Regions from separate parts of the Homo sapiens genome. Here regions 1 and 2 are each linked to region 3. Evidence: promoter capture Hi-C in 16 types of primary human blood cells and fetal thymus (Javierre and others, 2016). All regions are on one chromosome and are shown on one strand. The core of a region is centred on a gene start or on the middle of the fragment in contact, and the rest is flanking DNA. Distances in the headings are between cores, read along the strand shown.

The links. The method cuts DNA at HindIII sites, captures the fragments that hold promoters and counts their contacts. A CHiCAGO score of 5 or more calls a contact.
Region 1: a contact is called between a fragment that was not itself captured here and the fragment with the promoter of ARL6IP1 in region 3, in 8 of 17 cell types (fetal thymus, activated CD4 T cells, erythroblasts and 5 more). The highest score is 9.1, in fetal thymus.
Region 2: a contact is called between a fragment that was not itself captured here and the fragment with the promoter of ARL6IP1 in region 3, in 1 of 17 cell types (naive CD4 T cells). The highest score is 5.7, in naive CD4 T cells.

Annotation. Positions count from the first base shown.
Region 1 is chr16:18,950,730-18,954,136 of GRCh38, forward strand. No RefSeq gene overlaps it. Among named protein-coding and RNA genes, the nearest start is that of SMG1, 26 kb to the left of the region's middle. The HindIII fragment of the contact is 443 bases long and covers 1,693-2,135 here.
Region 2 is chr16:18,971,082-18,974,857 of GRCh38, forward strand. No RefSeq gene overlaps it. Among named protein-coding and RNA genes, the nearest start is that of TMC7, 11 kb to the right of the region's middle. RefSeq lists an enhancer at 1,208-1,708. The HindIII fragment of the contact is 328 bases long and covers 2,152-2,479 here.
Region 3 is chr16:18,800,217-18,803,579 of GRCh38, forward strand. ARL6IP1 (ARL6 interacting reticulophagy regulator 1) reads right to left here and starts at 1,333. Exons shown (of 6, transcript NM_015161.3): 1 at 1,215-1,333. The coding sequence starts at 1,250. RefSeq lists enhancers at 837-956, 1,177-1,256, 1,637-1,876. The HindIII fragment of the contact is 8,806 bases long and covers 1-3,363 here.

The sequences.
Region 1 (3,407 bases), core at 664-3,163, 150 kb after region 3:
CTGAGATTGCACCACTGCATTCCAGCCTGGCGACAGAGCGAGACTCTGTCTCAAAAATAAATAAGTAAATAAAATACAAATAAAAAAATAAAAAAAGAGACCTTGTCTCAAAAAAAGAAAAAGAGAAAGAAAAAGAAAAACTTAAAAAAGAAACACAATTATATAGATGAAAAAAAAGAACCACTTCCTGTGGGCTGATGAAGAGGTGAGGGACCTCATAGACAGCAGCTGTGTTACCAAAGGGAAGACCAAGGGGAGGCCACTGATCTTCACTTAAGAAAGTATAAATTGTCAGTGTCCAGACGCTGCATTGGCCATCCTTCTCTTGCCACCTGGGGAGAAGTGTCTACCAACTGTAGCCAGCCTGTGGTCCTCTATTTATGCCACAGGACTTGCCAGCTCTCCAATCTATCCACTCCACGTGGACAACTGCCTCCGCCATAGTTCAGGACAACTGCCACCTCTCTAGAGCAGAGGGTGATGGGGCTTGTCCTCAGAGGGTGGTGCTGATGGGAGGGTAAACTCCTGTGCCTGGGCATGCTGCAGATTTCCTAAGTTAGAACAGTGGTAGAACATCACCTTTATGTCAGTAAAATCCCATGACTCCTTTACAGTATCATGGCTTAACCACCTTAGTTTTTATCCCAAGGGTAGAAGAACTGAGCTATAGCTATAGAGACACCAAGATATGGTCCAAGGAGTAAGAATTTTCTTATGAGGGCATGGTGGCTCACACCTATAATCCTAGCATTTTGCGGCCGGGCACGGTGGCTCATGCCTGTAATCCCAGCACTTTGGGAGGCCGAGGCGGGTGGATCACGAGGTCAGAAGATCGAGACCATCCTGGCTAACACGGTGAAACCCCATCTCTACTAAAAAAATACAAAAAATTAGCCGGGCTTGGTGGCGGGTGCCAGTATTCCCAGCTACTTGGGAGGCTGAGGCAGGAGAATGGTGTGAACCCGGGAGGTGGAGCTTGCAGTGAGCCGAGATTTCACCACTGCACTCCAGCCTGGGTGACAGAGCGAGACTCCGTCTCAAAGCAAACAAACAACAAAAAAAAAAACCTAGCATTTTGGTAGGCCAAGGAGGGAGGATGGTTTGAGCCTAGGATTTTGAGACCAACCTGGGCAACATAGCAAGACCTCATCTCTACAAAAAAAAATTTTAAAAATTAGACGGGCATGGTGGTATGCACCTGCAGTCCCAGCTACTCAGGAGGCTGAGGCAGGAGGATTGCTTGAGCCCAAGAGTTCAAGGCTGCAATGAGCTATGATTGGGCCACTGTACTCCAGTCTCTACAACAGACTGAGACCTTGTTTTGTTTTGTTTTTTTTTAAGTGCCACTTAACTCAGGCTACTGGTTATGAAAATGCCCCTGAAAGAAATTAAATAGGTAAGTAAAGGAAATTTCCTGGGGGAAGATATTTATTTATTTATTTAGAGACAGGTTCTTTCTCTGTCACCCAGGCTGGAGTGCAGTGGCACAATCTCAGCTCATTGCAACCTCTGCCTCCCAGGTTCAAGCGATTCTCCTGCCTCAGCCTCCTGAATAGCTGGGATGACAGGCGTGCACCACCATGCCTGGTTAATTTTTGTATTTTTAGTAGAGCTGGGCTTTTACCATGTTGGCCAGGCTAGAAAATAAATATTTAAAAACAGCTTCTGGGCCTTACCTCTGCTTCATCTTGAAGCTTATTTGTAAATCAGCATGCTTTTTTCTTTTCTCCTTTTAAATTAACTAATTAATTAATTAATTGTTTTGAAACAGAGTTTTGCTCTTGTCTCCCAGGCTGGAGTGCAATGGTGCAATCTTGGCTGACTGCAATCTCCACCTCCTGAGTTTTAAGTGATTCTCCCGCCTCAGCCTCCCGAGTAGCTGCGATTACAGGCACCCACCACCACGCCCAGCTAATTTTTATATTTTCAGTAGAGATGGGGTTTTCTCCATTTTGGCCAGGCTGGTCTCGAACTCCTGACCTCAGGTGATCCACCTGCCTCGGCCTCCCAAAGTGCTGGATCACAGGCATGAGCCACTGTGCCTGGCCATCTTTTCTCCCTTTCTAAATGCAAAATGTGAAGTAAAAACTGGAGAAAACATTACGCTGATTCAGAAATAACTTTTTGGAGCAACAAGCTTGGTCTCTTTAGGGACATTCCTGACATTGAACATTCTCCCATCTGGCTCCCATAAGAATATATATATATATATATTTTTAAGAGACAGAGTCTTGCTCTGTCACCCAGCCTGAGTGCAGTGGCACAATCATAGCTCACTGCAGCCTCGAACTCCTGGGCTCAGGCGATCCTACCACCTTAGTCTCCCAAGTAGCTGGGACTACAGGTAAATGCCACCCTGCCCGGCTAATAGGTAGGATTTTTAAATAGCCCTTGAGATGTGGGAAGGCAACTACCATTTATTTATTTATTTATTTAGAGACACAGTTTTCACTCTGTCGCCCAGGCTGCAGTGCAGTGGCGTGATATCGGCTCACTGCAACCTCCACCTCCCAGGTTCAAGCGATTCTCCTGCCTCAGCCTCCTGAGTAGCTGGGATTACAAGCGTGCGCCACCATGCCCAGCTAATTTTTGTATTTTTAGTAGAGACCGGGTTTCACCACGTTGTCCAGACTGGTCTTGAGCTCCTGACCTTGGGTGATCCCAAGGTCCCGCCTTGGCCTCCCAAAGTGCTGGGATTACAGGCCTGAGGCACTGCGCCCCCGCAACTACCATTTATTAAGCACCTGCTATAGGTCAGGCATTCCACAAACCTCTTTGTGTTCATTAACTCATGTATTGCAGTAGGAAGCTCTGTTATCATTGGGATTATGGCTTGTCTGGAATATTTTCTTAGAGTTTGCAAAAATATTTTCTAAAGCAAAACAGTCTATTCAGATAAAGCATTCCCACAGAGAAAATTATGCAGATATTAAAGAATCCTGTAGGGCTGAGAGTGTATGCAGGTCATTAAGCCTTAAAAACTTTCTGGACCTCTTAGGCTGGCCATTAAAACTCCTGGTGAGAGCTGGTTATTTAATTAGGCTACAAACAAAATTTCAGCAATTGCTTCTAAATGGTTTTTCCAGCCCTGGAGGGAACCCAGGCAGGATTGGTGTGTGGTAAGGCTAATTTTTGCCTCCTGGCAGTTTTTAAATATTGCTTTCTTTTGTTTTGTTACATGTAGACCATAAATTATATAGCAAAACACCACCATATATTAGGCAAGGGACCAATTTTGTTTTCTCTCTAAAATACATGTCAAACATTGGCCTTCAAAATGACTAGGTTTGCTCATTTTCTTTTTTTTTTCTTTTTTTTGAGACAGGGTCTTGCTCTGTCATTCAGCCTGGAGTGCAGTGGTACGATATAGGCTCACTGCAGTCTCAACCTCCTGGGCTCAAGCAATC
Region 2 (3,776 bases), core at 1,066-3,565, 170 kb after region 3:
ATTTTAAAAAAATTCTTAGTAGAGATGAGATCTGGCCATGTTGCCCAGGTTGGTCTTGAACTCCTGAGCTCAGCCAATCCATCCATCTCAGCATCTCAAAGGGCTGGGATTATGGGCGTGAGCCACCGCATGCTGCCATTATGTGATGTTTTTTCTAACACCACCCCTCCAATGCTGACAACAGCTTCCCAAAACAAGCTTTCTGAGTCAGATAAGGAAGTTTCTGAGAGATCCTCCTAATGCTTCAGAAAAGAGCATCAGAAACACAGGGTTTAATACAATCATTCTTCGTTTATGAACGTTTGTGTTACTTGTTGAAGGAAGAGCCATAGCAGACAATGTTGGTTGGATCACCTGATATTATTCAGAACCTCATTCTAGAGTCTAGAAAACCAGATCTTCACTTTTCCAGACTTTCTTGCATCTCTGGATGGCCATAATGCCAACTTCTGCTGGTTTTGTCCTTAAACCTTTTTTATTGTCTTGAACAGGGATATGATGTTTGGAGATGTGGCAGCCATCTTGTAACCATGAGGACAAAAACTCTATATGCTATGAATGTCATTAGGGCTCAGAAAACAATACCCCAAAAATATGGTGCTTTGTCCTTTTTACTGATCTAAAGAAGCAGCCTCGAGGTCCCTCTGTGACCTTCACTCACCTCCTTGTCTTTCTGATCCTCTTTCCTGAAGCAACAGGAGGGACTCTGTCCTTATCTAAGAACACTTATCTCCAAAGAAATGCAATTGTCTAAGACACCTTCCCTAGGAATCTCATCAAGTAACCAGAAGAGACTGGGAGTCGTCACCACATCCAGACTTTTCATCTGTTCTTCTGAGGGCAGCTCTAAGGGATTACCTGGAGGACTTTTACCTGCATAATAAGCCAATATTTGTTCCTGTGCAGTTCCACCCCTCACCTGGTACATCAAACCTGTCTGTCTCATCCAGCTTGCAAAGAGAATCACTTTCAAAATAATATCTGTCTCCAGGTCCATACATCTCTCCTATGAAGAGAGTTTTTTTTTTTTTTTTTTTTGAGACAGAGTCTTGCTTTGTCATCCAGGCTGGAGTGCAGTGGCACAAACTCGGCTCACTGCAACCTCTGCCTCCTGGGTTCAAGTGAATCTCCTGCCTCCGCCTCCCGAGTAGCTGAGATTACAGGCATGCGCCACCATGACTGGCTAATTTTTGTATTTTTAGTAAAGACGGGGTTTTGCCATGTTGGCCAGGCTGATCTTGAACTCCTGATCTGCCCGCCTCAGCCTCCCAAAGTGCTGGGATTGCGGGCATGAGCCACCGTGCCCGGCCATGAAGAGAATATTTAATTTTCAACCACCTGGTCTCTCTTCGAGTCTCATGCTTTGTGTATGGCTCATGTGTTCATAGGCACATGAATAAATTGTGGATCCTTTTTTCTTCATTGATCTGCTTTTGTCAATTTATTATGGAGCAAATGGGCTCGCTTCCTGATGTGCACAGAAGCCAATAACTACAGCACTGGCTTTTGAAAAAATGAAAAAGGTTTTATTGCAAAATCAGCCAGCAAGGAGACAGGAGTCAGGCTCAAATCTGTCTCCTCTATTTGGGGCCTGGGGCAAGTTTTAATGGACCAGAGGGCAAAGGAAAGGATTTGAAAATGTCGGCTTGGCAGAGTCTGATTGGAGGACTTCAAATTTGACCATTTACGAGGCCGGGCGCGGTGGCTCACGCCTGTAATCCCAGCACTTTGGGAGGCCGAGACGGGTGGATCACGAGGTCAGGAGATCGAGACCATCCTGGCTAACGTGGTGAAGCCCTGTCTCTACTAAAAATACAAAAAATTAGCCAGGCGTGGTGGCGGGCACCTGTAGTCCCAGCTACTCGGGAGGCTGAGGCAGGAGAATGGCATGAACCCGGGAGGCGGAGCTTTCAGTGAGCCGAGATTGCGCCTCTGCACTCCAGCCTGGGCGACAGAGCAAGACCCCGTTTCCAAAAAAAAAAAATTTGACCATTTACAATAAGGTATGTTGAGGCAGATCCTAGCCCTGGATCTTTCAGGCCAAGGGACCCCTCACTTCTGAAATAGTCCAGCATTCAGGTTTTGATCATGTCTTCATCTTCTTGGATCTGAGGGGAAGAATGTTTTTTTCTGGATGTTATCAGAGGTCAAAGCTTTTGAGATGGAGTCTGACTCTGTCACCCAGACTGGAGTACAGTGGTGAGATCTCGGCTCACTGCAACCTCTGCCTCCCGGGTTCCAGCGATTCTCCTGCCTCAGCCTCCTGAGCAGCTGGGATTACAGGTGCCTGCCACCACGCCCGGCTAATTTTTGTATTTTTAGTAGAGATGGGGTTTCATCGTGTTAGCTAGGATGGTCTCGATCTCCTGACCTCATGTTCCGCCCACCTCTGCCTCCCAAAGTGCTGGGATTACAGACGTGAGCCACCGTGCCTGGCCTGGATATTCTCTTAATTGCAAACGAAAACATTCCTAATACAAGCTTCTTATAAGAATTTATTTATTTTATTTTTTTGAGATGAAGTCTTGCTCTTGTTGCCCAGGCTGGAGTGCAGTGGCATGATCTTAGCTTACTGCAACCTCTGCCTTGCAGGTTCAAGCAATTCTCCTGCCTCAGCCTCCTGAGTAGCTGGGACTACAGGCAGGCGCCACCACACCCGGCTAATTTTTGTATTTTTAGTAGAGACAGGGTTTCACCATACTGGCCAGGCAAGTCTTGAACTTCTGACTTTGTGATCCCCTCCGGCCTCCCAAAGTGCCAGGATTACAGGTGTGAGCCATCACACCCAGCCCTCTTAGAAGAATTTATACACATTATTATAATTACTTTTTTTTTTTTTTTTGCAATCACTGAACACTTTTTCCTAATGAGGAAGAAGAAAGAAACCTTTACTCAGAATCTATGCCACAGAACTTAGTACTTTGTTAGTTAGGGATTCTCTTGGGAGAAGATATCCCGGTAGGAGCAAGGCTTAGCACTCTACAGCAACTGCTTATTTATTTATTTATTTATTTATTTATTTATGGAGACAGGGTCTCATTCTGTCACCCAGGCTGGAGTGCAGTGACATGATCTCAGCTCACTGTAGCCTTCACCTCCCGGGTGCAAGCGATTCTCCTGCCTCAGCCTCTGGAGTAGCTGGAACTACAGGCACACACCACCATGCCCAGCTAATTTTCGTATGTTTAGTAGAGACGGGGTTTCTCTATGTTGGCAAGGCTGGTCTGGAACTCCTGACCTCAAGTGATCTGCCTGCCTTGGCCTCCCAAAGTGCTGGAATTTACAGGTGTGAGCCACCGCACCCGGTCTGAATGCTTTATTTTATTCTTTTATTTATTTATTTATTTATTTATTTATTTATTTATTTATTTATTTTTCCTTTGAGACGGAGTCTTGCTCTGTTGCCCAGGCTGGAGTGCAGTGGTGCGATCTTGGCTTACTGCAAGCTCTGCCTCCCAGGTTCACACCATTCTCCTGCCTCAGCCTCCCGAGTAAGCTGGGACTACAGGCACCCACCATCATGCCCAGCTAATTTTTTTGTATTTTTATTAGAGACAGGGTTTCACTGTGTTAGCCAGGATGGTCTCGATCTCCTGAGTTGGTGATCTGTCCTCCATGGCCTCCCAAAGTGCTGGGATTACAAGCGTGAGCCACCACGCCCAGCCACTTTATTCTTATAGACGTACTAGCACCCACACAGATGTCTTCTACTCATGCGGTAACATATATGGGAAAATTCTAGAATCCTCCACGAAAATGTCTCCCAAACATGATTA
Region 3 (3,363 bases), core at 83-2,582:
TACTTCAATTAATCTTCCTAACAACCCTTAAAAAAAGGTGTTATTACTGTCCCCATTTTACCAAGGAGGAAACAGATACAGAGGTTAACTGATCTGCATCCAAGAAATCCACGACCAAAGGCGTTGCTTTCCTTAGAGTTATATTGCTCTGCTGGAAGGAGAGTTGGGAAGCAGGAGCTCTAGCCCAGGATTTGTCATTTCAACAGGGCTTGAGCTACTTCTCTGTGCTTCAATTAATCCTCTTAAAAAGATCCACGCTGAGAACTAACTATGCTAGAAGGAGCGTGTGTTTAAAGGAACAAACCATGCATTTCTAAAAGCAAATATAAAATCACGCACAATCAAAACTGCCCTGAAGTCACGTCATTGGCCAGCGTCTGGGGTCTTGGAAGTTCAAAAGCCCCTAAGTAAATTCTTTGGTTCCGTTTTTCATTGCTGGTATGTGACCTACAGTCACCAGGGAAGGGCAACTGAGAATATGCAAGGATATTTCTCTTGTTTTTTGCCCACAAGGTGCGCTTAAATTCATAACAAATAAAAATGTGTCCGCCTATGATACCATCTCACTGCAGTTCCTTCGGATCCCTGCTTATTACTCTAAAGCTGTTTCCAGTAGTCCTGTGACCCCACCCCCGCCAGACTTCCAAATTCCAGACAAACGCCAAGACATCCCATTGTCTGTTCAGCTGGACCCCGCTCCCGGTTCCCCACGGTGAGCTCGCAGCCTCCCTGTCGTTTTAAGTTGTACCAGCTCTAAGATAAATTCTGGGCAGTAGCCCTTTGACCCTCCACCCTTGTCCAAGTTTTAGGGGGAAAAGAAGGCAGGCACATCCAGGTTAAGATCAAAGACGGGGAAAGCCGAATACGGCTGGGGCCTGAGCCGCGAAAGCGCTGGACAGGCCCCAGGAGGCCTTCTGCCCCCACCCGCACCCCAGGCTAGTGTCGCAGCCCCTCTGCCTCCCACTTCCTCCTCGACTCCTACTCGCGGTGATGAATCACGCGCCCTCCTCGCCCCGTCGCGCACCGTCCCCAGGAAAGGTAAGGGTTCGACACCCAGGAGTCACCCAAGAAGCCCGAGGGCCAGGCATCGTCGCCTGCCCAGGGAGAGAAGGGCCGGGCCCGCGGCGGGTGACAGGGACGAGGCCGCGGTGTTTGAGCCCACGGACGTCTGGAGGCCTCGCTCGGCTCCCGGGGGACAGGCAGCCAGGACTCACCAGCAGGTTGGTGCTGCGATTATCTCCCTCCGCCATCGTCTCGGGGATGCAGTCTCTACAAGCGCAGGCCACCTCCCCAACGAGTCCTCCAACCGAAACCCGCACACCAACCACAACCCGAGGGAACGCCCCGCAGGCTGCTTATATGGGTCGGCCGCCCTTCCCGACGGCCCCCGCGACGCTCGCTCCTCATTGGACAGACCGAGCTTACGCCTCAAGGAAGCCGGGCCAACCGAAGCTCAGCGCATGGCTTGAAATCGAGGTCAAAGGAGACAGAGGCAGCGCCGGGCCGAGGGGGAGGGGACACGGAGTGCCCAATCAGCGCCCAGGGACTGCGCGACGCCCCGCCCAGCGCTGTGGGAAGCGGTTCAACCGCCTCTGCAGGGGGCGCTGTCCCTCAGTGGTTCTCCGGCTCTTGCCGCTGCGGTGGCTTTGGGTCCCTCTTCGTCTGGCTTTCGCAGCCGAGGAGACTCTCTGGAAAATGGGCTACTCGAAGAGAGATGCTCCGTTGCCTCAGGCGGAGGGCGGGGACGCCGGGCCTGCGACACTTCATCTTTTCCTGGCCCCGAGGTGGCTGGGATCCGTTCCACCTTCGGCCCAGTTCCCCAGCCAGGCCCCTGAGCCGTTTAGCCCGGATTTGCGACCCGTGAGGTTTTGAGGACAAGTGAAAAGAGCTCTTTGTGTGGATTTTGCTGCAATGTTTCTCTCCTACCCAGTAGGAATGAGGCCTTAGCTTGCGCGGAAAAACCCAGGCCTGGTTTGAGAACGTGTGAAAATGCACCGCCTTCTAAGTGGCTTTATTATACGTGGATGTTTAAGTTACTTAAACTACAAGCTCCCTCTCCAAAAGGATTCTTTTTTTTTTTTTCTTTTTTTTTGAGACGGAGTCTCGCTATGTTGCCCAGCCTGGAGTGCAGTGGCGCGATCTTGCTCACTGCAAGCTCTGCCTCCCGGGTTCACGCCATTGTCCTGCCTCAGCCTTCCAAGTAGCTGGGACTACAGGCGTCCGCCAACACGCCTGGCTAATTTTTTGTATTTTTAGTAGAGACGTAGTTTCACCGTGTTAGGATGGTCTCGATCTCCTGACCTCGTGATCCGCCCGCCTCGGCCTCCCAAAGTGCTAGGATTACAGGCGTGAGCCACCGCGCCCGGCCAGAATTGTTTGTTTGTTTGTTTGAGACGAAGGAGTCTCGCGCTCCGTGGCCCCGGCTGAAGTGCAGTGGCGCGATCTCTGCTCACTGTAACCTCCATCTCCCGGGTTCAAGTGATCCTGGCGCGTCAGCCTCCCGAGTAGCTGGAATTACAGACGCCCGTCACTACGCCCGGCTAATTTTTGTATTTTAATAGAGACGGGGTTTCGCTATTTTGGCCAGGGTGGTCTGGACCTCCTGACCTCAAGATATCCGCCCGCCTTAGCCTGCCAAAGTGCTGGGATTACAGGCGTGAGCTACCGCGCCCGGCCAAAAGGATAGTTCTTGACACGACCTTTCTTCCATTAGAGGTCAAGCTAAGAAAATATGTAAACCCTCTCACAAGCAGTAGAATTCCTAGGCAGTTTAGGAACTGTGTTGAGGCACTTGTACATCTTTTCTATCCAGGATTTCAAATGCAGTAACAAGTGCTTTGATCTTTTTTTTTTTTTTTTTTTTTTTTTTTTCTTTTTTTCTTGAGACACAGCCTGGCTCTGTTGCCCAGGCTGTAGTGCAGTAGCCACCGCGCCCGGCCGATTTTTCATCGTTTGATACAAACAGAATCATGCCAAATGTCCGGATCAGATGTTTGTTTCAGGTGAATTAACTATAGTTTTAACTTCCAACCTTTTATCTTTTTTACAGGTTTTAACTTCCAATCTCATGGTCATTTGTATTCGGCCATTGAATTTAAATTTATTTTTAAAATGTTCCTTAAGTAACCACCAGGTTCTTAAATGTTCAAGGAAGTCATAAATGTGAGAGAACATAGCTGCAGACCACATACTGCCCCTAAGAGAGCTGGGCAAGGGCAGGAGCATTGTGAATTTCATGGAAGGGTGTCAATTTGCTGTGGGTCTTTCGGGGAAAGGGGAGTGAAGTATCTGAATCAGGGAGAAGCACTTGAAAAAAAGTCTTTGCAAGGGAAGCTGACTGTTCAATAAAGTGCCACTTTGGAG